Regions from separate parts of the Homo sapiens genome. Here regions 1, 3, 4, 5, 6 and 7 are each linked to region 2. The links are contacts of gene promoters, found by promoter capture Hi-C in blood cells and fetal thymus (Javierre and others, 2016). All regions are on one chromosome and are shown on one strand. Each heading gives the region's core, a stretch centred on a gene start or on the middle of the fragment in contact. The rest is flanking DNA. Distances are from core to core; before and after follow the strand shown.

What was found. Contacts are between HindIII fragments. The CHiCAGO score rates a contact against its expected background, and 5 or more counts as called.
Region 1: a contact is called between the fragment with the promoter of CST5 here and the fragment with the promoter of PYGB in region 2, in 4 of 17 cell types (fetal thymus, activated CD4 T cells, total CD4 T cells and 1 more). The highest score is 9.6, in fetal thymus.
Region 3: a contact is called between a fragment that was not itself captured here and the fragment with the promoter of PYGB in region 2, in 1 of 17 cell types (total B cells). The highest score is 5.4, in total B cells.
Region 4: a contact is called between a fragment that was not itself captured here and the fragment with the promoter of PYGB in region 2, in 1 of 17 cell types (naive CD4 T cells). The highest score is 6.7, in naive CD4 T cells.
Region 5: a fragment that was not itself captured here is called in contact with the fragment with the promoter of PYGB in region 2 in 1 of 17 cell types (M0 macrophages); the score reaches 7.2 in M0 macrophages.
Region 6: a contact is called between a fragment that was not itself captured here and the fragment with the promoter of PYGB in region 2, in 4 of 17 cell types (naive CD4 T cells, naive CD8 T cells, total CD8 T cells and 1 more). The highest score is 8.1, in naive CD4 T cells.
Region 7: a contact is called between a fragment that was not itself captured here and the fragment with the promoter of PYGB in region 2, in 1 of 17 cell types (total B cells). The highest score is 12.6, in total B cells.

Annotation. Positions count from the first base shown.
Region 1 is chr20:23,877,594-23,881,357 of GRCh38, forward strand. It overlaps CST5 (cystatin D), which reads right to left and starts at 2,155. Exons shown (of 3, transcript NM_001900.5): 1 at 1,853-2,155; 2 at 1-25. The coding sequence starts at 2,083. RefSeq lists an enhancer at 1,648-2,477. The HindIII fragment of the contact is 1,186 bases long and covers 1,224-2,409 here.
Region 2 is chr20:25,246,694-25,250,264 of GRCh38, forward strand. It overlaps PYGB (glycogen phosphorylase B), which reads left to right and starts at 1,392. Exons shown (of 20, transcript NM_002862.4): 1 at 1,392-1,728. The coding sequence starts at 1,486. RefSeq lists silencers at 424-677, 696-775, 956-1,145, 1,156-1,345, 1,656-2,035 and an enhancer at 1,426-1,505. The HindIII fragment of the contact is 3,937 bases long and covers 1-3,571 here.
Region 3 is chr20:23,407,213-23,410,702 of GRCh38, forward strand. All of the region lies in intron 1 of NAPB (NSF attachment protein beta), which reads right to left. Among named protein-coding and RNA genes, the nearest start is that of NAPB, 13 kb to the right of the region's middle. RefSeq lists enhancers at 936-995, 1,136-1,195. The HindIII fragment of the contact is 1,648 bases long and covers 503-2,150 here.
Region 4 is chr20:24,039,184-24,042,558 of GRCh38, forward strand. No RefSeq gene overlaps it. Among named protein-coding and RNA genes, the nearest start is that of GGTLC1, 52 kb to the left of the region's middle. The HindIII fragment of the contact is 7,127 bases long and covers 1-3,375 here.
Region 5 is chr20:23,649,597-23,653,308 of GRCh38, forward strand. No RefSeq gene overlaps it. Among named protein-coding and RNA genes, the nearest start is that of CST3, 13 kb to the left of the region's middle. The HindIII fragment of the contact is 1,823 bases long and covers 942-2,764 here.
Region 6 is chr20:24,023,013-24,026,406 of GRCh38, forward strand. No RefSeq gene overlaps it. Among named protein-coding and RNA genes, the nearest start is that of GGTLC1, 36 kb to the left of the region's middle. The HindIII fragment of the contact is 3,336 bases long and covers 1-2,945 here.
Region 7 is chr20:23,372,192-23,375,678 of GRCh38, forward strand. GZF1 (GDNF inducible zinc finger protein 1) reads left to right here. Exons shown (of 6, transcript NM_022482.5): 6 at 1-871. It overlaps NAPB (NSF attachment protein beta), which reads right to left. Exons shown (of 11, transcript NM_022080.3): 11 at 2,331-3,487. Among named protein-coding and RNA genes, the nearest start is that of GZF1, 12 kb to the left of the region's middle. The HindIII fragment of the contact is 157 bases long and covers 1,400-1,556 here.

The sequences.
Region 1 (3,764 bases), core at 905-3,404, 1.4 Mb before region 2:
AGTAGTAGTTCACCCCACCCACGATCTACACGCGTGGAAGAGCAGGAAGCAGGGGCAGCATGCTGTCAGTTTCATGCACACGCAGGCACTTCACTGTGACTGAGTCACTGGGCTTGCCTGGGGCTTCATGCCCACACTGTCACCCAAAAGGCACACAAGCCACCTTCTCCTGCTGGCTGGCAGTGGTAGTGTGTCCCAGTCCTTCCTAGTAACTTGTTTTCTCTGGGTATCTCAAGCAAGCTGTCTCATGCAGCCCAGTAGAAAGAGAAGCAGGGGCAGGGCAGATGGAAGCCAGGGCCTAAAACCCCCTTCACTGGATTCAGGAACAGAAGGCACAGCTCTGGGGAACCAGCCAGGGTGGGACAAAGAAACAGTCCTGGCACCAGGCTTGCAGGGCAGGGTCTAAGCACCAAGTGAATGCTCTTTCCCACAGCAAAGGATTAACTGAATTCTGCTACCTGTGCTCAGGGGGCAGGGACACTGGTCCCATCCTAGGAAGGCTGCCACCTGATGATGAAATTTCAGCTAACTTCCAGCTCCTGGCATTCAGTCCACAGAGCATCTCATTCCTGCCATTTAACCCAGAGGTATTTTTCCTCATTTCTCAGTAGGAGATGAGATGCTCACATACATTGATGTTTTAGGCCAATAAACATTGCCTCCTGCATGCCTCCATTCCAGGTGTGATTTTCAAGGCAATATTTCTAAAGTGAGTCACACACCTGCATGTCTTAGGGTTGCAACTTCAGAAGAGAACTGAATGCTTTCCCTGCACAGTGCCGCCCCAAAACATGACTTGTCAGAACTGTGGAGAAGCATGGGATGAGGGACCCTGGGACCAGGGTGCTAGACCTTGCCCTGTGGAACCACACACAAGTCCTGTAGAACCACATGGAAGTCCTGTGATCCCTCCGGTGTCAGTCTGCTGCTCTGTAAAATAGGCTCCAGGGCCCAACGATCTACATCATTCTGTGCTTCACTCCCAGTGAGTGACACACTTAAGAGGGAGTGCAGGCCAGCAGGGACCACAGCACCAGGGAATGCCCCTCCTGTGCAGGGAGAGGGCTGCAGGAGGAGAAACAGGGCTGGTCTGGACTCCTCTGACTTTCCAAGAGAAGGTGGAGGAGCTCTAAAGGCTGGCAGGCCATATAGCCCTGTGGTCGCTGTGTCACTGCTGCTCTGCCATGGGACGTAGGTCAAGCTGGGCTCGGTAGCCCTGCTGAAGCTTCCTCCCTCTGGACCCAACCACCTCCTTCACTCTGCTGGGTGATTGCTGTCCTCATTTTGCTGAGGTCTAACTCTGCGTTAGCTGGCAGAGGCAGGGTCAGGCATGCTCTACCCCAGCAGGAACTCAGCTGTCCTGGGCTGTAGGGGGTGGTCAGCCAGCCTGAGAGTGAAGGCCACTAGCCATAACGGGCTGTGCCCAGGGGCGTGACTTGGGAGGGAAGCGGGGCTATCCAGGACAAGGAGTCAGGTTCCCGTGTGGCCCCTGTGGAGAGGACTCAGGGAGGAAGATGAACCTCGTGGCCTGGATCTCATCCTGAGCAGCATCAAGCCCACCCAGAGTCAGCACAGTCTCCATCCACACCTGCTGGACCCTGGGAAATGCCACAGTCATGGTACAGACACAGTGGCTGCTGCAGGTTAAAAGAGGCCGAGGGGACAGGACAGGGCTGAACTCATGCACTCACGGCCAAGGAGTGTCCTAGGGCATGAAGACCATCAGCAGACAGTCAGAGAAAGCTGAATGAGTCTGCGGTTTAGATAATGTTGATTTGCTGGGAGTGCTCTGGGGGGTGAGGCAAAAAACCCAGCTGGGACTCAGGACCCCCAGGGTGGTGGTAGCACGCACCTGCTGGTAGGCAGCCATCACCTGCAGAGGGCGGCTGTAGTACTCATCCTTATTAATGACCTTGTTGTACTCGCTGATGGCAAAGTCCAGGGCACACTGCACACTCTTGTCATTGAGGTCTGTGGCATGGATGCCACCTGCCAAGGTCCTAGATTGGGCCGAGGCACTCCCGGCCACGGCCACCATCAAGGCAGTCAGCAGCAGCAGTGGGGTGTGCATGGGCCACATCATGTTCTACTGGGACACAGAGCAAGGAGCTGGATCTCCCAGAGAGCAAAGCAGCAGAAGGCTGAGGCAGGAAGCCCAGGCCAGAAGCTAGCTGTGCATTTATCCTACTTGGGTGTCCCCCAACCCCACCTGCTCCCTGGCCCCGCCCCTGGCTCCTCCTCCTCTTTCTACCCCTCCTCTTCTGTCTCTATCTCCCTTTCCACCCCCAACCACCTCCCTCCCTCCCTAAGTTCCCTTCGCTCCTCCCATGCCTCCTCCTCATCCTCCTCCCCACTCCTGTCCTGACCGCAACCTCCCCACAGCCCTGCCCCTCTTCCTCAGTGCTCTAAAGCTTGGCTCACTCTGGATTCCAGAGAGGTGACACCGCTCCCTGGGCTGTGAAACCTGGTGACCACCTATGTCCACAGGAAAGGGAGAAATACAGGGCTTGGCCTTCTAAAGTCTTCAGATGTCAGGGGCATCCAGGAGCACGTGGTCATGGTCTGGGAATTCCTGGGGCAGGGAGCTGTTTCAGAAGCTCCGGGATGACCTTGTCCATGCCCTCTTCTGGGGAACTTCTTTGCCAAACATAAAGTAATTAACCTTTGGGTAAAGTTCACTGGGTTCTCGTTTCATAACTCCTCATTATTCAATAAACAAACCTGTCACCAGCTTCCCCCTGCACCAAGCAGTCTGGGCAATAGAGCCGTAGACATGAACTTGCAGAGCTGCCATCCAACAGAGATGTGACAGAAACCCAGGAGCAATTTAAAACACATTTGAAAAAGTTAAAAGATACAGCTGAAAGTAATTTTGGTATTTCTACTTTAACCTAATATATCCAAAATACTTCAACACTTCAGGACTATTCTTAAGGAGCTAGTTTACATTCTTTTGTGTGAGTGTAATGTCTTGAAGTTCCCTGTGTATTTTTTACAGTTAGACCAAGCGTCACTGTGGACTAGCCCCATTTCAAGTGCCCTGTGGCCACGAGTGGCTGCTGGTGGCTGTGGTACTGCATAGCCCAGCCATTAGGGTGTGTGGGAGGATGCAGAGTGGTGATCAACAATTTAGATCAGGGAATTATAGTCGCTCAGTTAGAGAGAGGGTGGGTGCTACTGGACCCTGGTCAGGGAAGTCTCTAAGAGACCGGAAAGGTTGAGAAGCCCCAGGCAGCAGGGAATAGTCAGTGCAAAGGCCCTGAGGCAAGGCTGGGCATGCCTGCTCCAGGAAGAGGAAGCTCCTGGAGGGGGTGTGAGCAGGGAAGGGAACGACCTGGAGTCTCACGGTAACTGTGGGTGTGTCCAGGTGGAAGGCGCAGGGAGACCCCTGGCAGGTGGTGGGGGTGTCAGGAGAAGGAGCAGCAGCCACAGGATGAATGTGGGAGCCCAAGAGCCTCTCTTGCTCCTCCCCTCTGGGAGACGTGCTGCCAGCACTGGTCCTCTGTACACTGCTTGGAAAACTCATGTAATATTTTAAAAATTACATTGAATGAGGTAGAATTTACACACAATAAAATGCCTAATTGTATGTGCCCAATCTGGGGGATTTCATAAATGCATACACTTGTGTTACCACTTTGTCCACACCTGTGATATCTGCCTCACCCCAGATGGTTTCCTCCTGCCTCTGAAGCCCACCCTCATGCCCACCCGACCCTGGCAGCCCACATCTGGTCCTGTGGACTCCTTTGTTGCCTGTCCTT
Region 2 (3,571 bases), core at 142-2,641:
TCATTTTTATGACTTCTGAATTGCCAGATCACCCTCAGAGAGATTGCATCAGTGTTCGGAGCTTGCAGCCAAGCTCGACCCCACAGCCCTGCCATCTGTGCCCGAAGTTCGATCTTGTTGGCTCCAGAATCCCTAGGACATAGTGCAGGAGTGAATCCCGAGCTGGAGCTGGGTGGGCTGTGGGGTCATTCCAGATTGATTAACCTCCGACCTCTGAAGTCTGCAGCTGGAAGGGGCTCCAGGTAAGAAGATAACTTTGAAGCATCACACCAGGAAACCTACTGCACCTGGACTTTCATGACATTTCCTGCGGGCAATTTTTACCTCCACGAAATTCAGTAACCTTTGCAGCCCCTTCAGCCCAAGACCACCAGGAGCAAACCTGTGGTCCACAAAATCGGGTGTACTGACCCACTGCAATGAGGGAGCGCCTCCCAAGAACGAAGGGAAAGGCAGAGTTTGAAGGGGTTGAGGGAAGGCAGAGTTTAGGTGACCTTTACATGAAGCAGGGTTCCCACAGGCTGAGGCCAGCAGGACTGTGTTCCGCGGGGCCAAGTGTGGGAAGCTGTGTGCAGACGCCCCCTATCTGGAGCTGCAGCCTGGATTGGGATGACAGAGGCTAAGTCTCGGTTAGTGGCTGAGCTCCCCGGCCAGACGGGCATGTTTCCTTCTCCCTGCTGTAATCTCAAAGCGGACAGCGTCTGCCAGGTGGTTTCGGGAACAGGGTTTCTCCGAGGGCTAGGGGGCTGCGGTCCCTCCGAGGCGGGGTCGTGGTGGCATTTGGCTGTGGCTGCCTCGCGCCCTCGGGAACGGGCGTCTCCAGCTCGCTGGCAGCTGGTTTTCTCCACGTCTGTCATCGGCCTGGAGTGGCAAGCAAATAGCTGGTATTTTCAGAGCCGCCCTGCCCCGGACAGAGAAGACCGGGCCCAGCAGGCGTTGGTGGATGCCTTTCAAGCTGTAATCAGTTTCCCCGAACGTGTACCAGGTCTCGGCCACAGCCCGAGCCCAGCGCGCTCCCGCGGGGCACCTGGTGACCCGGTGCAGGGCGGGAGGGCCGGTCCCAGGAACCCGAGGGCCGGAGGGCAGGGCCCCCTTCCCGCACCGTCCCCGGGCTGGCAGGAGCGGCCACGACGGCACGCTCCGAGGCCCCGGGTCCCTTGCCCCCTCCAGTCGCTCCCACTTTCTGCCGGGCTTGCCCAACGAGGGGGCAAACACCACGCTCAGGTGGCGTGGACAGGTCGCTGCCGCCTCGGACTACACCAGAGATCTCAGCTATGAGCCTGGACGCCCGCCCCGCCCTCCCGAGGCCCCGCCCCGCCCCCCGAGGCCCCGCCCCGGCGCGGCGCGCAGGCGCGGTCCATCCCGCCCGCAGAGCCGCAGTGCCGGGCGCCAGAGCAGCGGCGCCAGAGCAGCTGCACCATCCCGGCGTTCGCGTGTGCCGCCGCTTTCCTCCTCCATCTCTTTTCCTCCGCCTCCGCCGGCGCGATGGCGAAGCCGCTGACGGACAGCGAGAAGCGGAAGCAGATCAGCGTGCGCGGCCTGGCGGGGCTAGGCGACGTGGCCGAGGTGCGGAAGAGCTTCAACCGGCACTTGCACTTCACGCTGGTCAAGGACCGCAATGTGGCCACGCCCCGCGACTACTTCTTCGCGCTGGCGCACACGGTGCGCGACCACCTCGTGGGCCGCTGGATCCGCACGCAGCAGCACTACTACGAGCGCGACCCCAAGGTGAGGCGCTGCCCCGCCCTGTGCGCCCGTGCCCGCTGAGAGGGCGCCGGTCCCGGAGCCGCGCCAGCGGGGGTCTCTGCGGGGCGGCCCGTCGGGCGTTACCTGCGCCCCTAGCCGGCCGGCGGCCAGGCACAGCCGACTGGGGAGTCGCCTGGAAGCCGCAGTCGGCGGGGCCCGGGCGTCCCCTGCGCAGGGCCGCGGCCACGGGTCCGCCCCACTGGGAGCCCGCGCCTGGCGGGGTCCGCCGTCCCCCGCAGATGATGCTGAGCCCGGGAGCCTGGCGGACGTTCCCGGTCTCTTTCTGGCCGTGCGCTTCCGCGCTGGCTGCAGAGCCGGTGCTCCCCGCCCCTGCCTCCAGCCACTCTTTGTTTTCCTGCAGCAGCCTGTGGGAGAAAATGGGACTGGAACCAGGCCTGGGCAGCCTTGTGGGTTGGAATGGGGTGAGCTCGGTAATCTGCAGGGAATTGTGAGACTTTTTTTTGTGTACGCTGCTTAGAAGAAAATCACTGAAGATGCCTGCTTCACGCAGGGAGGGGTACGAAGCTCAGAGATGGAGATGGAGCCCTCGAAGAAGGCTCTGTCTTAGAGGTTCCCACACCTCCCTTGGAGAAATTTGCTTGGGTTGAAGTTGACAGAGATCATCTTACTAATTGTTACTTTTTATATCTTGCAAAAATTTGTTTGAGTAGTGAAACAAAGTCACTGATTGTCCCCGTTACTCTTAACCATGTTTACTATGGGCCTGTGTTCTTGCTGTGTTTTTGGTATTCCTAAATATACATACACATTTTTAAAAAGTATAATGCACATACAGTTTTTTAGATTTTCTGTTTCATTCGTAAACATTTGTAACTTTTTCACTGATAAACAGCTTTGCAGGTCAATGGATAGGATGGTAGTTTTCAGTTTGATAGGTACATGGTAGTCTTGCACAGCCCCCTGTTGCCAGTTTTTTGTTGTTGTCGTTTGCTTTTAAACTCTTGACCATGGAGAATTGTCTTTCTACTACACTAACGTAGAGGGAGAACTGGTGAGGAAAAGACACACTTCCAGACCTGAAGCCACTTGGCAAAGATTTTACTTGCAGTGTACATCTAGGCAGTGAGCACTTGCTTTATGGATGGTATTTTAGAATATTTTTGTAGGGCATTAAGATATGTTTAATACGGTAATTGCTAAGAGATTGACTGCTTTTCCAAACTTATTCTGGGACATTCTTTTTTCTAAAATGGAGATGGTAAAAGGGACAGATTTGTTAGAATACCAACTGGGGCTCTTCATATTTGGTATGCAAAACATAGAAGTGGCAACGAATGGCCAAAACAGGTTATAACAAGGGCTTGGGATGACTTTGCCAGGAAAAGCAGCCAAGAAGCAGTGGCTCCCCCAGAATTCCCTGCTGTTGGGAGAGTTCTGATGCACAGCACCATTTTTTTTTTTTTTTTAATTCTGAGTCTTGCCCTGTAGCGTGAAGCTAGAGTGCAGTGGCGCGATCTCGGCTCAGTGCAACCTCCGCCTCCCGGGTTCAAGCAATTCTCCTGCCTTAGCCTCCCAAGTAGCTGGGATTACAGGCGCCTACCACCACGCCCGGCTAATTTTTTGTATCTTTAGTAGAGACGGGGTTTCACCATGTTGGCCAGGCTGGTCTCAAACTCCTGACCTCGTGATCCGCCCGCCTCGGCCTCCCAAAGTGCAGGAGTTACAGGCGTGAGCCAACGCACCCGACCCGCAACATCATTTTTATTGTCTAAGTGGCGGATGGCAAGGACATAGCTCTGCCTTCACATTCAAGGGCATTTCCTTGGAGCTGGACCAGGACTCAGCTCTACACCTTAGGGTGCCC
Region 3 (3,490 bases), core at 77-2,576, 1.8 Mb before region 2:
CTTTTGAAATTACACCGGATGCTTATTTTGTTTTATGTGAAAGTTAATTTTTTGTAAATTTTATGGACAAGTATTCAGAATTTGCATTCAAAGTAACAACTGTTATCCAGAGGTCTCACAGTGAGGCAGAAGATCCTTGGAAAAAATATTCTGTGGGGAATCCATATTACGCAGCAACATAAGTTAAACACTTAGCACTCAATTGACATTAAGAAGCTAAACTGAGCTAAATTAACTATTTTTTTGTATTACAGGAATCTGACTTGGAAGAAGAAAACATTTTCCCCACCGTGAAAGAAAACACTGCCCAGCTAGCACAAAAACCACTGCCACCTGGCTGGCCCAGGTGAACCACCCTTGCATTCCAGAGGCAAGGCAGACTCTCTTCTTCTTGACCGTACTTATTCAGGAAATATTTACTGAGATCCATATGTGCCAGAAAACACTAAGGAAATAAACTTCTTGCCCACAAGGAGGTCACGACACTGAGGAAAGAATATCAAGCTTCACGGCCAGAAGGGTCTGAGAAAAAGCCTATCAATTCCCCATGTTCCCCTGAGGAAACATTGTCAAAGCCACAAATGTCCCACCAGGAGCCAGTGAACAGCAGAGCTGTGAAAACCAATTCATCTTCAAATAATCTAAAATCTTGATTTCCCCCATCCTGAATAATAACTATTGCAGAGCATTGTAAAACTATGACAACTATAGTCCGTACTATTTTAAAACTGTGGGTGGGAGGAAGGAGACATCGTAGAATTGTGAGAACTAATGACACACACATCATGAGATGTACCTCAAAGAAAAAGGCTGACAACTCCTGAGATAGAAATAAAGTTGCCTCTAAAATCACAAGATATTAGAGTAGAAATACCACAAAAAGTGACAGTGACAGTACTATGAAGATAAGCATGTAGAACCAGAGGCAAAATTCAGCTCTAACATCAGGATGCCATGAAGGGGTGTGTCAAGCCACCCCAAAAGACTGAAAAGGGACTTGCCCAGTGTGGGGAGCCTGGGGGGATCCCCACAAAGCATGGTACCTCCTTCTTCTCATTATTTACCAGCAGTATCTCCTTAGCCACTAGACTGATGCTCTGGGGAAGAGGAAGCAGCACAGGGCCTAGCACACAGGCCACAATAACAAGGCTGATGCTTAGTGTCTGGATGGAACAAACTGTCCACATTCATTTTTTAAGGTTTCCCATGTATGCCTCAAAATAATAAGCAAATGTAGAAAGAATCCAGAAGAGAGGAAAATTCAAAATCTGTCTGAACGTGCCTCTGCCATACACAACTACTCTGTGATATTATAGGCTCTATAAACAATTTATTTCCACCTGATGCTTCACTTCTGGAAACTCCACAGATTCTAAAAACTTGGGGCTTTCCTAGGTAAACTTAACCCTTCCAAGATTACTTTATTTCAGTGCTTAATATATTTTAAAACAGTACAAATCTTTTATGTGATGCAAAAGTAGAGATTTCTTCCGTGGAGGAGATGCAGAGGCCCCAGAAGGACACAAAACAACTGGAAGAGATATTTTTACATGTTCTCAACACAAAGAAATGATAAATGTATGAGGTGATGAGTATGCTAACTATCCTGATTTGATCATTATACAACACAGACGTATATCAAAAAATCAAACTGTACCCCATCAATATATGCAATACAATGTGTCAATTAAAAACTATTTTTTTAAAAAGGTAGGAGGGAGATACTCTCCAGAATGCTAATTTGAATTCTTACAGCAAAAGGCAGCATTTAAATGTTTCACTGTTCTTTTATAAATCGGTAATGCAGAAGCCCAAGGTATGGTGGAAAGGCCCAGGGCATGGGCTTGAGTCAGACCACCTACAAATGAACAGTATCATTTATTTACCAGCCTCCAGTTCCCTGGAGCAGCCAGGCCTGTCTTGGCCTTGGAGAGAAAGAAAAATTCCACCAAGCCAGCTAGCACTGTACCAGTAAGGGGAGCGCTGTCTCAGTGGCCTTGAGCTTTTGGAATCAATTTTCTAAGAACTTTTCAGTTTACTTCTGCTTAATTAAGGACAAAAATCATAGATTCTCAAACAGAGAAAATAATCAGAGACATTTAAGGCCTGTGACCAAAGTATTTGTGTTTAAGCACAATTTCCTGAAATAAAGCTTATGAGAACAAGTATAACAAAGAAAACTAGTTAGACTTTATTTTGACAATAGTTTTCTAATGCCTCAACTTTATATGGGGAGTAGTCATCTTTATAGAGAAGAAATAGGTATACACTGGACCTATTTATAAAACAAAACAAACATATTTAAATACTTAAGAAAGATAATGGTAACTGCTAGATTAATTCAGAAATGACTGTTACATACAACCTGATTTACCAAGAGCAGTTTTTAAATTGAATTTCAGTCTTTATAAAAATTTAAGCTGAATTTCAGTCTTCAGAAAATACTGATGAGACATGTGATTCCCAAAAAATCATGGTGGCTGCTTAGATAAATATATCCACACATCCTCCAAAAACCTTATAGATCAACAAAAAGCATACACAACCACCCATAATCCGTGCCTACAGCAAAAGGAGGCAGTATTCAGCAAGCCTCCATTAAATATAATTTAGGAAATAAAAAATCCAAAACTACCAGAGCTAGCAACACTGCCTCTGCTGCCAGTCAGAGGGGCGTCTGTCGACAGGAGAGGGGAGTTTAACCTGGCAATCATTGTCCAGGGAAGAACTCTCAGCAAGGAAGTGCCCTACCAGGGTGGGCAAACACCCCAGACCAGGTGGAAGACCTGGCAGGTTAGAGCACTGCAGTTGGGAACTGAATAGAAGGGCTTTGCCACAGGCTGCAGTTTCCAGAAGACACTGCTTCTGGGAGAAGGCAACTTAGAAGGTGGGGGCAGCTCTATGGAGGTTTGGCAGTGAAAGGAAAGAAGGCAAGTGATGGAAATACGTTCTTGAAACAAAAGAGTATCACAGAATTAGAAGTCACACAAACCTACCCCTCCACAGCACCATTCATTAAAGAAACCGCACTTAACTGTACCTACACAACGCAGCATTTAAACTAAGAAACCCATGAAGTCACACAAACCGCTCATCTCCTATCACAGAAACACATGCTATTGTGTGTCCAAGAAACTCTGTGACTCTCTACACTAAACAGAAAGGAGAAACAGCATCCATATGAAGCTACTACATAAGAAAGAAGATCCTAAGTGAATTAATGCAGGAACAGAAAACCAAATACCGCATGTTTTCACTTATAAGTGGTAGCTAAACACTGGATACCCATGGGCATAAAAATGGCAACCGTAGACACTGGGGACACTAGCGGGGTATGGGGAGAGAAACAGTTGAAAAACTATTGGGTACTATGCTCAGTATCTGGGTGACAGGATCATCTGTACCCTAAACCTCAGTATCACACAATATACCCAGTTAACAAACCTGCATATGTACCCCCTGACTCTAAAATAAAAGTTGTAAAAAAGGA
Region 4 (3,375 bases), core at 618-3,117, 1.2 Mb before region 2:
AGCTTCCACAGAGAGATGCAGACACTGAGGGCCCATGTAGCTGAAGCCTCAGAAGCTGGTCCACCATGTTCTGCCAGAACAGGGGAATCATCATCCTTATAACCACCCGGAAGCATGGAGACAGGGCCTCATAAATCATGCAGCACAAAACCCTGGTTGGACAGCAGGCAGGGTGGCAGCCCTGACACCCACAAGGATTGCCTGGGGCTGCAGCTCATTAGTGGTACCTTGAAAAAGCTGGAATCTGGGTGTCCCCAGGAGATCTTTCCCCGCCTGCTGGCTTCTTTCCATGGTGCTGTTTGCCTGCTGGCCCCTGGTGAGGGCCCTGCAGGGCGGGAAAATGGGGACTTCTTATTCCTTTCCACTCTGTGTGAATTGATTTTCCCAACTAAGCCCCAAGTTCCAGTAACTTACTGGGTTGTTGGAGTCACTGGCTATTTTAAACTATCATTTTCATCTGAAGCATTTCACTCTTTAGACTGACATTTAAATGCATGTTCAAATGTGGGCAGCCTTCCCTCAGAGCCCAGGCACTGGGCTGGACCCATGCATAGATGCTCCTCCTTTGCCCCCACGTGGAAACCACGAGACACACACTCCATGCCTGCTGAGGAGGTGAGGAAAACAACTCCAGAGAGTGTAAGAAGTGCATGTGCAGACACACACAGGACCGGGTCCCCTTGGTCCTAGGGGCTGTCCTAGAGGTGAAGTCTGCGCCCCTCTCCTCCCACCTCCTCCTGAGCACGTTGCTCCTCTGCAGCTTCTTGTGCTGAATGTGTCTCCCCTGCAGGCCTCTTAGCATGTGGCCTGAACTTGGGGTGCAATGGCTCTTCTCTCTCCTCATTGCCACTTCCACACCACTCTCCCTCCTTAAAATCCCAGCCCCGAGGCTCATGACGTGAGCCATACCACCTGCTGCCCCTCTTTAGACAGTTGGGTATAGACCCCTGTGGCCGTTTTCCTTTATTCCTTGGAGGTTTCAGCTTCCCTGACCATCCAGTCCTCCACATGGAAGACCACGCAGAGGCTCTGTCCAGTGCCCTAGCCTCGCAGCTCCTTCGCGCCTCCATAACAAAGCCTTGCCCTCCACTCACTGCAGCCACTCATGCTGCCCACCCCCGAGACCTTGTCATTAGCAAACAAAACAGGGAAACTTCTATCATCTGGATTCAAAGCAGCCCACATCCTTACCACCTCTTATCTTAACATAATTTAATAGTTGCAGAAAAAGTCCCCCACACCAAAATTTAAAAAAAATTAGTTGTACACATGCAGGGCAGGATAGATTTGGCTAAACAGAAATCTAAATGATATAAGCTGAAATAAGCAAAGGTTGTGTTAATGGAAATTTTCAGTATTGGAGCAAAGACAGAAATCCTGCTGTAGATGAACTGGGGAGGCCAGGTCATAGCACCATGCCCATTTTCTGGTAAGACTATTGAGGCGAATCCTCTTCAGGAATGTTGGAAGTGAAGACGTCCATGATACCTAGTGGGTGAGGTGAGTTGATCCTGGAGAAGTGAAGTCTCAGTGGCAATGTTGGTCCTGAGGCCACTGGCCATACTGTTAAAAAAATTTTGATTTATGACCAACTCATTTATCATAAAAACCTATTTTTTATGAGAAGTTTGTAACTTCAGAAAAAAGTCTAAAGATTTGGCAGTGTTAACTTCTTTTGCCCATGACTACCACAGGGGCCCCTTGGGTTCACTACAGGCCTCACCCTGTACCCTCCTCCACCTCTACCCAACCTACTCCTGTTTTCTCCTCATTCTACTCCAATTGAGTGTCCATGCCCTCCACTCAACCAAAACTGCCCATTTCAAGGTTACTATTGATGGCCACACTGCAAAATACAGAGCTGAATGCTCAGTTCTCACCTTACTTGAAGTTCCTGCAATGTTTTTGTTGTACTTGAGCCAACTAGCAATTATTACATGCAATTGCTCCCAGTGTGAGGAAGTCAATGGGAAGAGGTAACCAAGAAGTACAAAACACTTTTTGCAAACTAACCACACATTTATTCCCATTTAACAAGTTAATTAAGCAATTAATAGATAAAACAATTAGGGTGAATTCAGCAGTCAAGCCATTATGTGAGCTAGCTTCTTGCCTTGGAGCTAATTTCCTAGGTTAGAAGGGCAGCACTACCACCCCTGGGGATCTGTCCAGTTGGTCAGGCTCTCCTAAGGCCTCCAGCCTCCTGGCTACCCCCAGCCAACACGGAATTGACTTCTGGTGGATGATATCTTCATTCCATCTCCTCAAGGAAATCACACAGTGACAACTCCGTGCCCTCCAGAGAGGTTTCTGGAGACCAAAGCCTATCTTGGTATTTTGGTTGCAGACTGAGTTTTTGTATTAAATATTTGCTTCTTTGGGTTTTTTTTTGTTATTTGTTTTTTTTGTTTTTTTTTTTTTTTTTTTTTTTTACGTTTTTTATCCTTGCAGTGTCTCAGGGTGAAATGTTGGAATGATAGGCTATGCGTCTCCTCTTCCACACTCACAGCCAGCCTAAGAGCAAATTTAGAGCCTCGCCTTTCAGCACAGATCCGGATTCTGGCCACTCCTTAGAGCCTCCACCACCTCCACATGGATCCAGCAAGACCATCTTTTTTGGGGCGATGGCAAAGGCCTCCCTGCTGCTTTCTCCGCACCTCCCTTGCCACCCTCTTCTCCCAGCCATGCCAGTGTGGCCTTTTGTAATGTGAATTTTAGAGTTCACTCCCCTGTTCAAAACCCCATTCCAGGGTAAAAGCTAAAGTCCCCCCATCTGCTCCCACCCAGGGTGACTCTCCAACCCTCCTTCGCACCCCTTGCTCACTCTGTTTCAGCCATGCTGACCTCTCTGCTTCACAGCCTTTGCCCTTTGCCCTTTGCCCTCTTGGCTTCCTCTGCTGAGAACGTCCCCACCAGCCATCAGCCTGGCTCCTGTCCTTTCCACCTTCTTTCCACACACCCATCTCTTCCTTCCCATTTACCCCACTGGATTCTCCCATAGCACCCACTTTCTAGGCCCCATGCACTTTACTGAGTGATTTGTTATCTGTTGCCCCCACTGTAAAATCGGCTTCACAGGTGAGGGGATTTTTGTTTTTTTTCCCCCACTTCTGCATTCCCCAAGAAAGTAAGTGTCAGATACTGAGTAGGTGTTCCAAGGTGCCCGTTGAATGAATGAGGAATAAGCCTAGCTGTTTGGTGTGTTCCTTGTGAGCCTTCTCTTTGTGTTTGAACATGTTACCAAATCATGGCAAGGATAAAATCTGTGTCTTTTCAACACTGGTGTTCCCTTTCATATGTGATCATTCATCCCATAGAATTTGGTGTGGTCGATCACTGGTTTCCATGAAGTCTGTCCCAATACTAACAGCAAAC
Region 5 (3,712 bases), core at 603-3,102, 1.6 Mb before region 2:
AGGGTTGTAGGATTTTTGAAACGGTAAATGAACATTGGCTTCAACTTAAAGTCACCAGCTGCATTAGCTCCTAACAAGAGAGTCAGCCTGTCCTTTGAAGTTTTGAAAACAGGCTTTGACTTTTCCTCTCTAGCTACAAAAGAAGGTGGTAACTTCTTTCAATAGAAGGCTATTTCTTCGACATTGAAAATCTGTTGTTTAGTGTAGGCAACTTCATCAATGATCTTAGCTAGATCTTCTGGATAGCTTGCTGCAGCTTCTACATCAGCACTTGCTGCTTCACCTTGCACTTTTACGTTATGGAGATGGCTTCCTTTCTTAAATGTCATAAGCCAATCTCTGCTAGCTTCAAACTTCTGCAGCTTTATAACCTCTTCCAGCCTTCATAGAAGAGAGTTAGGTTCTTGTTCTAAATTAGGCTTTGGCTAAAGGGAATGCTGTGGTTGGTTTGATCTTCTATTCAGACCATTCATACTTTCTCCATATCAGCAATAAGGTTATTTCACTTTTTTTTGAGACAGGGTCTTGTTTTGTCACCCAGGCTGGAGTGCAGTGATGCAATCATAGTTCACTGCAACCTTGAACTTCTGAGCTCAATCCTATTGCTTTAGCTTCATGGGTTGCTGGGACTACAGATGCACATCACTGCATCTGGCTAATTGTTTTTATTTTTTGTAGAGACAAAGTCTCACTTTGTTGTCCAGCCTGGTCTTGAACTCCTGGGCTTAAGTGATCCTCCTGCCTCAGCCTCCCAAAGTGCTGGGATTACAGGTGTGAGCCATTGCACCAGGCCTATTTCACTTTCTTGCTATTTGCAGGTTCACTGGAGTAACGTCTTTAATTGCTTTCAAGAATTTTTGCTTTTTATTCATAACTAGGCTCTTTGGCACAAGAGACATAGCTTTTGGCCTGTCTTGGCTTTCAACATGCCTTCCTTGCAAAGCTTAAATCAGTTCTAGATTTTCGTTTAAAGTGAGAGATGGTGGAAGAGATGGTGCAACTCTTCCTTTCACTTAAACACTTAGAGGCCAATGTAGGGTTATGAATTGGCCTATTTTTTTTTCTTTCTTTCTTTTTTTCTTTTTTTTCCAGAGATGGAGTCTCACTCTGTCACCCAGGCTGGAGTGCAATGGCTTGATCTCCACTCCTGCAACCTCTGCCTCCCAGGCACAAGAAATTCTCCTGTCTCAGCCTCCCAAGCAACTGGAATTACAGGTGTGTGCCACCACGCCAGGCTAATTTTTGTATTTTTAATAGAGATGTGGTTTCACCATGTTGGCCAGGCTGGTGTTGAACTCCTGACCTCAAGTGATCTGCCCGCCTTGGCCTCCCAAAGTGCTATGATTAAAGGCATGAACCACTGTGCCCAGCCTAATTGGCCCAATTTTAATATTGTTGTGTCTCAGGGAATAGAGAGGCCCGAGGAGAGGGAGAGAGATGGGAGAATGGTTGGTTAGTGGAGCAGTCAGCACACATAGATTAAGTTTGCAGTCTTATGTGGGTGCTGCTCATGGCACCCCAAAACAATTACAATAGTAACATCAAACATCATTGATCACAGATCATCATAGCAGATATAATCATGATAAAAATGTTTGAAATATTGTGAGAATTACAAAGGTGTAACACAGACACATAAAGTGAGTACATGCTCTTGGAAAAATGGTGCCAATAGACTTGCTCCTCTCTGGGTTGCCACAAACTTCCAATTTGTAAAAAATGCAATGTCAGCAAAGGATAATAAAATGAAATATGCCAGTATATCTCTTAATATATCTCTCTTACGAGGTCTGTAAGTTGGTATATGGTATTAATTTAAGATTAATACCATATACCAACTTACAGACCTCGTAAGAGAGAGGTTGAACCCTGAGTGATACACATCCATATGCCAACTTTAGCATTTGCTTCTCTCTATTTTATATATACATACATATATTATAAATATTTTTACATATATATATATACATATATATACACACACACACATATACGTATTAGAGGGTAAGTTGTAGATATTATGGCTTTTTACCCCTAAATACTTCTGCCTAAGAAAGAAGTTCTAGCTTGGTGCAGTGGCTCACGCCTGTAATCCCAGTACATTGGGAGGCCAAGGTGGATGGATCACCTGAGGTCAGGGGTTCAAGACCAGCCTGGCCAACAAGGTGAAACCCCATTTCTACTAAAAATACAAAAAATTAGCCAGGTGTAGTGGCAGGCACCTGTAATCCCAGCTACTCAGGAGGCTGAGGCAGGATAATCGCTTGAACCCAGGAGGCAGAGTTTGCAGTGAGCCGAGATCGAGCCATTGCACTCCAGCCTGGGCAACAAAGAGCGAAACTCCACCCCGCCCCCCCCCCAAAAAAAAAAGAATAAAAAAGAAAGAAGTTCTTCTGAAGAAAAGGCTTTTTGGTACTTGTTGTCACGTAATTATCAGATTTAGGAGATTTAACACCAATACACAATTATCTAATAGTAGTTCTTTTAAAAATTTATCCAGTTATCCCCAAGATATCCATTCCAACATTTTCCCATCTGCTCCTGGATCAAATCCAGGATCTCACTTTGCATTTTGTATCATGTTGCTTTAATGAACGTGCATGGGAACAACAGTTGTCCTGTTTTTGTCCTCCATGTCATTGACAATTTTTGAGGAATACAGAACAGTTGTTTTTATAATAATATTTTACATAATTTATAACCTTATAAATTTGAGTCTTTTTGTTTCTTGATGATTAGACTTGAGGCCAACTCTTTTGACAGAAGCTTTGCCTGGGTGAGGCTGTGTCCTCCTCAGTGCATCACATCAGGAGGCCCAGGATGTGAGTTTGTCCTGTTACTGGTGACTTGATGTTGATTATTATTTAAGGCAGTGTCTGCAGGTTTCTCCATAAGTTTCTCCATACTTATTGTTAATAAGTGACCTATGGGGAGATGCTTGGAGACATTATAAAATACCCTGTGCACCAGTCACTCCCCCCAGTGGTTTTAGTGTCTACTGATGACTCCATTCAAGTATGTTATTGTTCTGTGGTTGCTTCCAGGCTTTTAAATGTGTTCTTTGATTCAGCCTGCAGCAGGCTGTTAGGGAAGGCTCTTCCTTCCTAACACAGAGTCCCAAAACACTGGGCTTCAAGGGAGGTGGTGGTATATCCCTGTCTACAAAATATTTTGTGCACTTCCTTTTTCCTGAGCAAGATATAAGGTATTCTGGGCATGTTTTGTTAGGACACCTCTTTTTAAGACCTGAAGGTCTTATGGAAAATGGCAGCCTTCCGTTTTAGCTGTCAAAGTCTACAGGCTTTAACTGTGCTGGCTGGTGGCTGGAAGTGGGTCCAGGCAACAGTTCAAAGTCAGAAGCCTGAGATCTGTGTCCTTCAGAGGGCTGGTGGCAGCTTGTGCCTGGGCATCTCAGCCCTGGAGGGGAGTCAGGAAGGAGCCCCTGAAGGGGCGAGCCAGTAGCTGACTCTGGGCCAGTCCAAGGCCCCCACACACGACCCAGGCCCAGGCCCTGCCTCCCTATGGTGACCATGCTGCTGAGCTGAACTCCAAGGGCTGCTGCTCCTCCAGCACTATGGTGAGGGAGAACTTGATCTTTTTTGAGATGGAGTCTCACTGTGCTGCCCAGACTGGAGTGCCATGGGGTGATCTCAACTCACTGCAACCTTCCAGGTTCAAGTGATTCTCCTACCTCAGCCTCCTAAGTAGCTGG
Region 6 (3,394 bases), core at 28-2,527, 1.2 Mb before region 2:
CTAATTGCTTAGATAATGATCCCAACAGAAGCTGCTCCTCAGGAGAGGAACCGCTCATGATATTACCAGGCGGGGGCCTAGGTGTCCTCTTCTTCCTTTCTTCTCACCTGTCTCAGCACAGGCCAATTCCACCAGCAAAGGTGCCCAGCTCACCTGCTTGGTCCCCTGGAGAAATATTGAGGCCACAGGAAAATGGGGCCTGAAGACTGATACTCCCAGGAAGAAGCAAGACTGAGAGCAAGAAGGAGACAAGGGGACCAAGAGCAACAGGAGCAGAAAAAGAAAGAGGAAGAGGACGAGGGAGGGAGGAAGGAGAGAAGGGCAAGAAAGATGACTTATTTGTCCACAGTGCCAATGACAGGTGCACCTTCCATCTTTCCCCACTAGGCCGATTGTTAACTTGGCATCAAACCAAGAGTATTCTTAAATTTGCTATTTGAAAAATTCAATAATTATAATACAGATAACTTGCTTTTTTTGTAGTGTTTTTCTCTGAAATATTTGTGATGATATCTTATAATTTTGGTGCACAAGTTTCTTTCATTTGGGTTACCTCTTTGAGTCACCCCATAGACCTCAAGGAAGTCAAGGTTATGTAAGAAATGATACTAATGAGGGGTCCAGGCAATTCTTGTAGGGGCTGAGAGGTATTTGCTGACTATCTTTACATACCAAAACTTAGTGCCTTAAAACACCATTAATTCAGCTCATAATTTTTGCAGGTCAGGTGTTTAGGAAGGTCTAAGCAATTCTTGGTTGGATTTCTCATGCTTGTTGCAATCAGCCTTGGCTGGAGCTGCCCTCAGCTGAGACACTTGCGCTGGAGGTCCAAGAACTTGCTCAGCTGATGTCCCCCTCAGCCTCTCCAGCATGGGGACCTTAGAGGAGTTACATTTTTGATTGGGCATCCAGGTTCCCTTGGCATGACCATCCCAGGAGAACCAGGTAGAAAGTTTATGCCCTTTACCTGCTGATGGAAGTCACACAATGCCCTTCCATTCTGCCTGTCCTTGCAGTGACTCTTTATGGTCTGCCCAGATTCAAGCGGGAGGCTCATAGACCTCTCAATAAAGCACCAATAAACTGCTGCCGTATTTTATTATCGCAAGAGACATTTGCAATGCAGTGATTGAAGAAATATGGCCCCAGATGAGTCTTGTCCCAGGACTAGAATCTTAGGTGTCCTAGCAGTATTCCAGGACTGCTTCTGTGCCCAACAAGTGCTTCTTGGCTCTCTAGGCATAAAACACACAGGACACTCCATCATGGGACCTAGTGTACTGCATTATTAAATAGAATAAAAAATTAGCCATGAAAAGAGAGGGGAAGGGATTAATCACACTCCTATGCTTACATGCAGAACTGCCCCCACTCTGGCTGAGTTGCAGCAGAGATAACCACTGTGTCACAGCACTTGTGATACTGCTGTAATTTATTATTTATGGTACACAAGTAGCATGCATGCATCTTTTCAGATATCATGTGAGGTACTTTTAAAACATCACATAGCTGCAGGCACTAGGCCTGCATAAAAGTAAAGCAAAATTACCCTCACTGTCAACCCAGCTGTGGGGATGGCTCTTGACTTTTAGAAGTACAAAGGTGGAGCAGCTTCTCCTTCTCATTAATCATTCTGGGAAGCCGTCATACAAGCAGAAACTGTTGTTCTCATTTTTATTAGTTTTCCCTATAGGGATTCAGACCAGTGATGCTTATCACCTTCTTTCCAGGATGTGAAGGGTCAATGTGCCTATTTTCAGCTAGAGAGGGATTAGAGACGGAGGGAATTTGGTATTACTGCTACAGAATTAGATCTGATGGAGCCGGATAGTTACATGACTGTATCATGTTTGGGATCATAGAGCCTACCTATTAAGACATGTGAGAAGTAGAGTGGAAATAGGAATACTTTTATACAATAAGTAATAGTAAAATTCATAATGATTATCAATATAATATGCACATACGATAAATAAAAATAAAAAGGTACCCAGGTGCACCATGAAAACACAGCCTCTTGTGCACCCTTGTGCCTTCCCCCAGACTTGCAACTTGTTCTGCCTTCTGGTGGCTACCACCACAGCACTAACTAATGTGCCCATTACGCTTTTTCGTTCGTTCTAAAATAATTTTCAGACATCATCTGGTAAATTTCTGATTTAAAATTTAAAAAAATTAGCTCACCTAAATCATTTTATTCTCTCTTTTCCACCTCTTCCCAATTGTAGGCAGGCCTTCCATTAGTTACTGTGTAAATACAAGTAATATCATTAAATATAGATTTATGTTTCTATCAATTTATAAAGTATCTTTGGATTCATCTCTATTTCTGCACCCACTCCCAAACCTCTATCAATTGGATCTTTGTTAGGGAAGATAACATCTATTTTATATTCTGTACCATAGGTGATTTAAAAGTTCAAAACTAATAAACATACTCAATAAAATATGGCAAAGTAAGTGTGGTTTACCCCATAGCCAAGTACTGTGGTTGACTTACATTTCCTTCTCCAAGCCCAGAATCGTGGCCTGGGACAACACAGGCAGATATTTCTAGGAGAAAAATCAAGTTATACCCCCACTGCCCAGCAGACAACATCTTAGTTTGCTTCATATTTGAACCATAATGTTCTTGAAAATATTTTGCTTTGCCTGAAATTTCTAATTGCCTTTTGTTTCTTGAATCTTGTGCAGGTTCCACATTTTCCCAAATGTATGAGCCTCTAACCTAAGACATGTCCAAAAGTTCTTTACTTACAGGGACATGATCTAGGGGCTTAGAGGGCCCTGGAAAAGTAAGATAATATATTTTAAAGACCCAATTTTACACAAAAGAACAAAAAGAGGAAGAACTATAGCAGAATGCCACTGCTGTGGATTCAGACTTCACCTCCCTGCCCACGGAGATGATTGAAGGGGAAAAAGGACAGAACATGAAACTAACAAGCTTGAGGCCTTATCAGTGTCTATATTGGCAAATTGAGGAGCGATGCACTCCCCAAGGTGGGTAAGCTGGTGGAAATGGCACTGCTGACTCCCAGGCAGGTGTTTGTATACTGATGTTTGTCTTCCCACACACGAATGAAAAAGACCAGGTAGAGTGAGCTCCTAGCCCACCCCTCTCGCCCTCTCTCCATACCACCGTGCTTCCTCTGTCCCTGTTCAGCAACGAGAAACAAGCTGAAATGATCTGTGCATACATATTGCAAACAACAACAACAAAAAAAACAATGAACGCAAAATCAAATAAAAACATACATCAGAAGTGAAATTAACCAAAGGAGAATGAATGTAAACACACAGTTCTCTAAGATGCTCAATAAATCACAAATATCATTACTCCATAAAATCAGTTAACAGATAAATACGTACAGCTAATATGTATCAACTGAAA
Region 7 (3,487 bases), core at 228-2,727, 1.9 Mb before region 2:
ATTTGTTTCCTTAGAAATTCTACAAAAAAATGTTGTTAATAAATGTCTGCTTTGTAAAAGCAGTTTTGCAATTTTTTAAAGATCTATTTCTGTTATAATTTAGGTTCTGCAGAAATATGATTCTTAATTGAAACATATAATTTGCTTAATTACGTGAATAATGAAATGTAAAATCCGGGTCCATAAGCCTTTATTTCATACAGTCCTAGGATTAAGCTGTTTAACTGCTTGGATCCCAGTTGGTCTCTGGCAGTGGGATCCTGGAGAGGAGAAATCCTGGCCTCTGCTCATGCGCAGGCCACAACCGGGCTGGAAGTGCGGTTGAGCTCTCTGCCACTTTCTTCAATGTAAAAAGTAGGCATCAAAGATACGACTTCTACTATATACATTTCTCTGTCCCTGAGAACAGAGAAACGTAACCCTGTAGGGGACTGGTTACAGAGGACCTCCTGGAGCATCTGCCCCATTCCTCCAAGTCCAAGCACAGCCATGCTGAGTGGAAGCGAGGCCACCATCTGAGTGGATTGGTCCCAAGTGTGTAATGAGGAAAGTGGCCAGGTGCCGGCACAGTGCCTCTCCCAGAGCCTCAAGAAGGGCCATTTAGGAGCTTGCTTCAACCATTTTCCAACCATTTTCTGTGAAATGCTGTCAGCCCAAACTCCAAAGGGATGTGCAGCCTTTCGTTTTACCAAATTCTTTGCTGTCGTTTGGAAAAAATGGGCCATGTGGTGGAGACCTTTATTTAAGGTGATTTTTACAGAAATGTGATTTTGCTGTAGGTGATTATCCAAACAAGTAAATTTGAGTGTATAATTTAATTTTTAACCTGTTAAATAAACCTTGTCCCTCCAAGGAGTTCATTTTTGGGAAACAAGATGGGTACTTGTCAATTTAACCAAATGTCATGATATTCATGTACTCAGGAGTAACAATATTTCATTTGATGTGACTGAGAAAGGCACACAGGTCAGAGGATCATCTAGCACAGCAGTCCCCAACCTTTTTGGCACCAGGGACCACTTTTGTGGAAGACAATTTTCCCACAGGTGGGGGGACAGAATGGTTTCAGGATGATTCAAGCGCATTGCATTTATTGTGCACTTTCTATTATTATTGCATTGTAATATACAATGAAGTAATTATACAATGCACCATAATGTATAGTGGGAGCCCTGAGCTTGTTTTCCTGCAACTTGACAGTCCCATCTGGGGGTGATGGAAGACAGCAACAGATCATTAGGCATTAGATTCTCATAAAAAGCGTACAACCTAGATCCCGTGCACGCGCAGTTCAATAGGGTTTGCACTCCTATGAGACTCTAATGACACTGCTGATCTGACAGGGTGCACAGCTCAGGTGGTAATGTGAGCCACGGGGAGTGACTGCAAATACAGATGAAGCTTCACTGCCTGCAGCTCACCTCCTGCCGTAAGGCCCAGTTTCTAACGGGTTGGGGACCCCTGATCTATCACATCATGCTAAATGAGACTCAGAAAATCATCTGCATACCTTTGGCAATCCGTACGTGGACTCTTAACTAAGGCTGACAAAACTAAGCTTTTAAACTACCATGGTGGCATCTTCATTAGGAAATTGATTCTGAGAAGAGCCACTTGATTTAGGCTTTGAATGATCAACAACTCAGAATGCCTAGATGAGGACAGCTTGTTCTACCATTTAAAACATTTTGCTTTGACTTACCTGAAGTGTTGTGAATATACTTTAGGACCTGAAATCAAGGCTCTATGATAGGATGGTAGGATGAGCCGGTCTGCACTACCCGCCATGGGTCCTCTTCCTCATCAGAACTTCAGGCCCCAGTGGTCAGTGGGACTGACCCTTCCCCAGGGGCATCTCCTCTCCCTGTGCAGATATTTTGCAAAATTAAAATAAATGCCCACACTGACCAGATAGTTGAGTGGTACTTTCTTGGGGTAGGAGAGTGTCAGGCTTAGGGGTGCCTCACCTCCCCACCAGTCTTCCAGCAACCATGCCTTCCTCAACTTTGCAAGTAACTGTAGACCCTAAAGGATTCAAGGAAGGGATGAGAATGTGGGGTCTGCAGGGTTATCATGTACTTTAGTGGACTGCATCAACAGAAGTTACCAGGGTTTCCTTCTAAACCCTCAGTCTGCAAAACCATTACGGTGCCCTGGAATTCCCAACAAATGACCGGAGCCTAGAGAGTATTAACGTCTGTTGCCTTAATCTTAACGGGAACAACTTGAAACAATGGAAGCTACTTTTGACCTATGCCAATTTAGCAACAAGACTCATCAAAATATTACTGATAATTTCCACTTTATAGGTTAAAATAAAACAAGCATACTTTTTCTGCTAAGGTAGATTTATTGTTACACATGGTTAGTTTTCATAACGTAATCCCCTGCCCCAGAGCAACTCAGGACTCCATGGAGCAGGAAGCCTGCTCTTGGTCATAGCTCATACCACAGCAGGCAGGTCACGGGGGCATGCTGTGCTGCCAAGTCCTCCAAAGGAAGTCACAAAGGTTTGCATTTGGACATTTAAATCCACAAAATCAGGAGAAACAATAAATGCACAAGGGCTGGTGCATATACTTTGGTTACAGTGACGCCACCACACACGGTCACGACTGTGCAAAAATACTGCTTTCAAATCATTAAATAAAAAAGAACTCACACAAGCTATAAAAATGTTGCCACAAAAAGCAAAACTTTCCTCTAAGAAATATTAACTGACTTTGACTATGAACTAACTCCAGATTTGCTAAAGTACAAGAATTGTACCATAAATAATTATATTTTGTTCATAAGTAACATTCTATAAATCTTGAAGACCTAGCTCACAGGCATCTTGAAACATGGCACTGTCCTACATCCATGGGACATTTAAAGGAAGTAAGTTTGCACACCACTAACTGGGCTTTTCTCTCATTCTTTTTTTTAATCTTCTGGCAGGTCTCTTCTAGCCATTACAATTACTTTGATTCTTTTCATGTGAAATATTAAAAACAAAAATTAATTCTTAACCCCGGAACTGGTCCCAGTGTTTATTGCAATACAAACAAGTGACCCTCTAATTGACACAACAAAATGTTACAAACATTATTGTTAAAAAAAAATACCCCTTCAGACGGGTCTGTTGGAGTATAATGATGAAAGCTAAACATAATTGCCCGAAAATAAATCATGTAGTTTTTACTTTAAGTGGTCAGACCAGAAGATTCTTTAAACAAGTAGAAACAAACTACTTAAAACCAGAGGACTCAAGCTGCAGAACCACTCCTCACACCCCATTTTCACAAAAGTGCATTTGGCTGGTTGTAGGATATATTATTAGGTGGGGAAACAAAACCCCACTTTTCTCTCTGATCATTTTTTCATAAGAGATTCTAAGAGGGAGTGAAAAAGTACCAACTGGACTCCATTCCAGGTCTTACCTCTAGAAGACAGCCAGCTCTCATTTAAGAATCTCAGAACTTGGAAGGAAGGAGGAAATCCACAT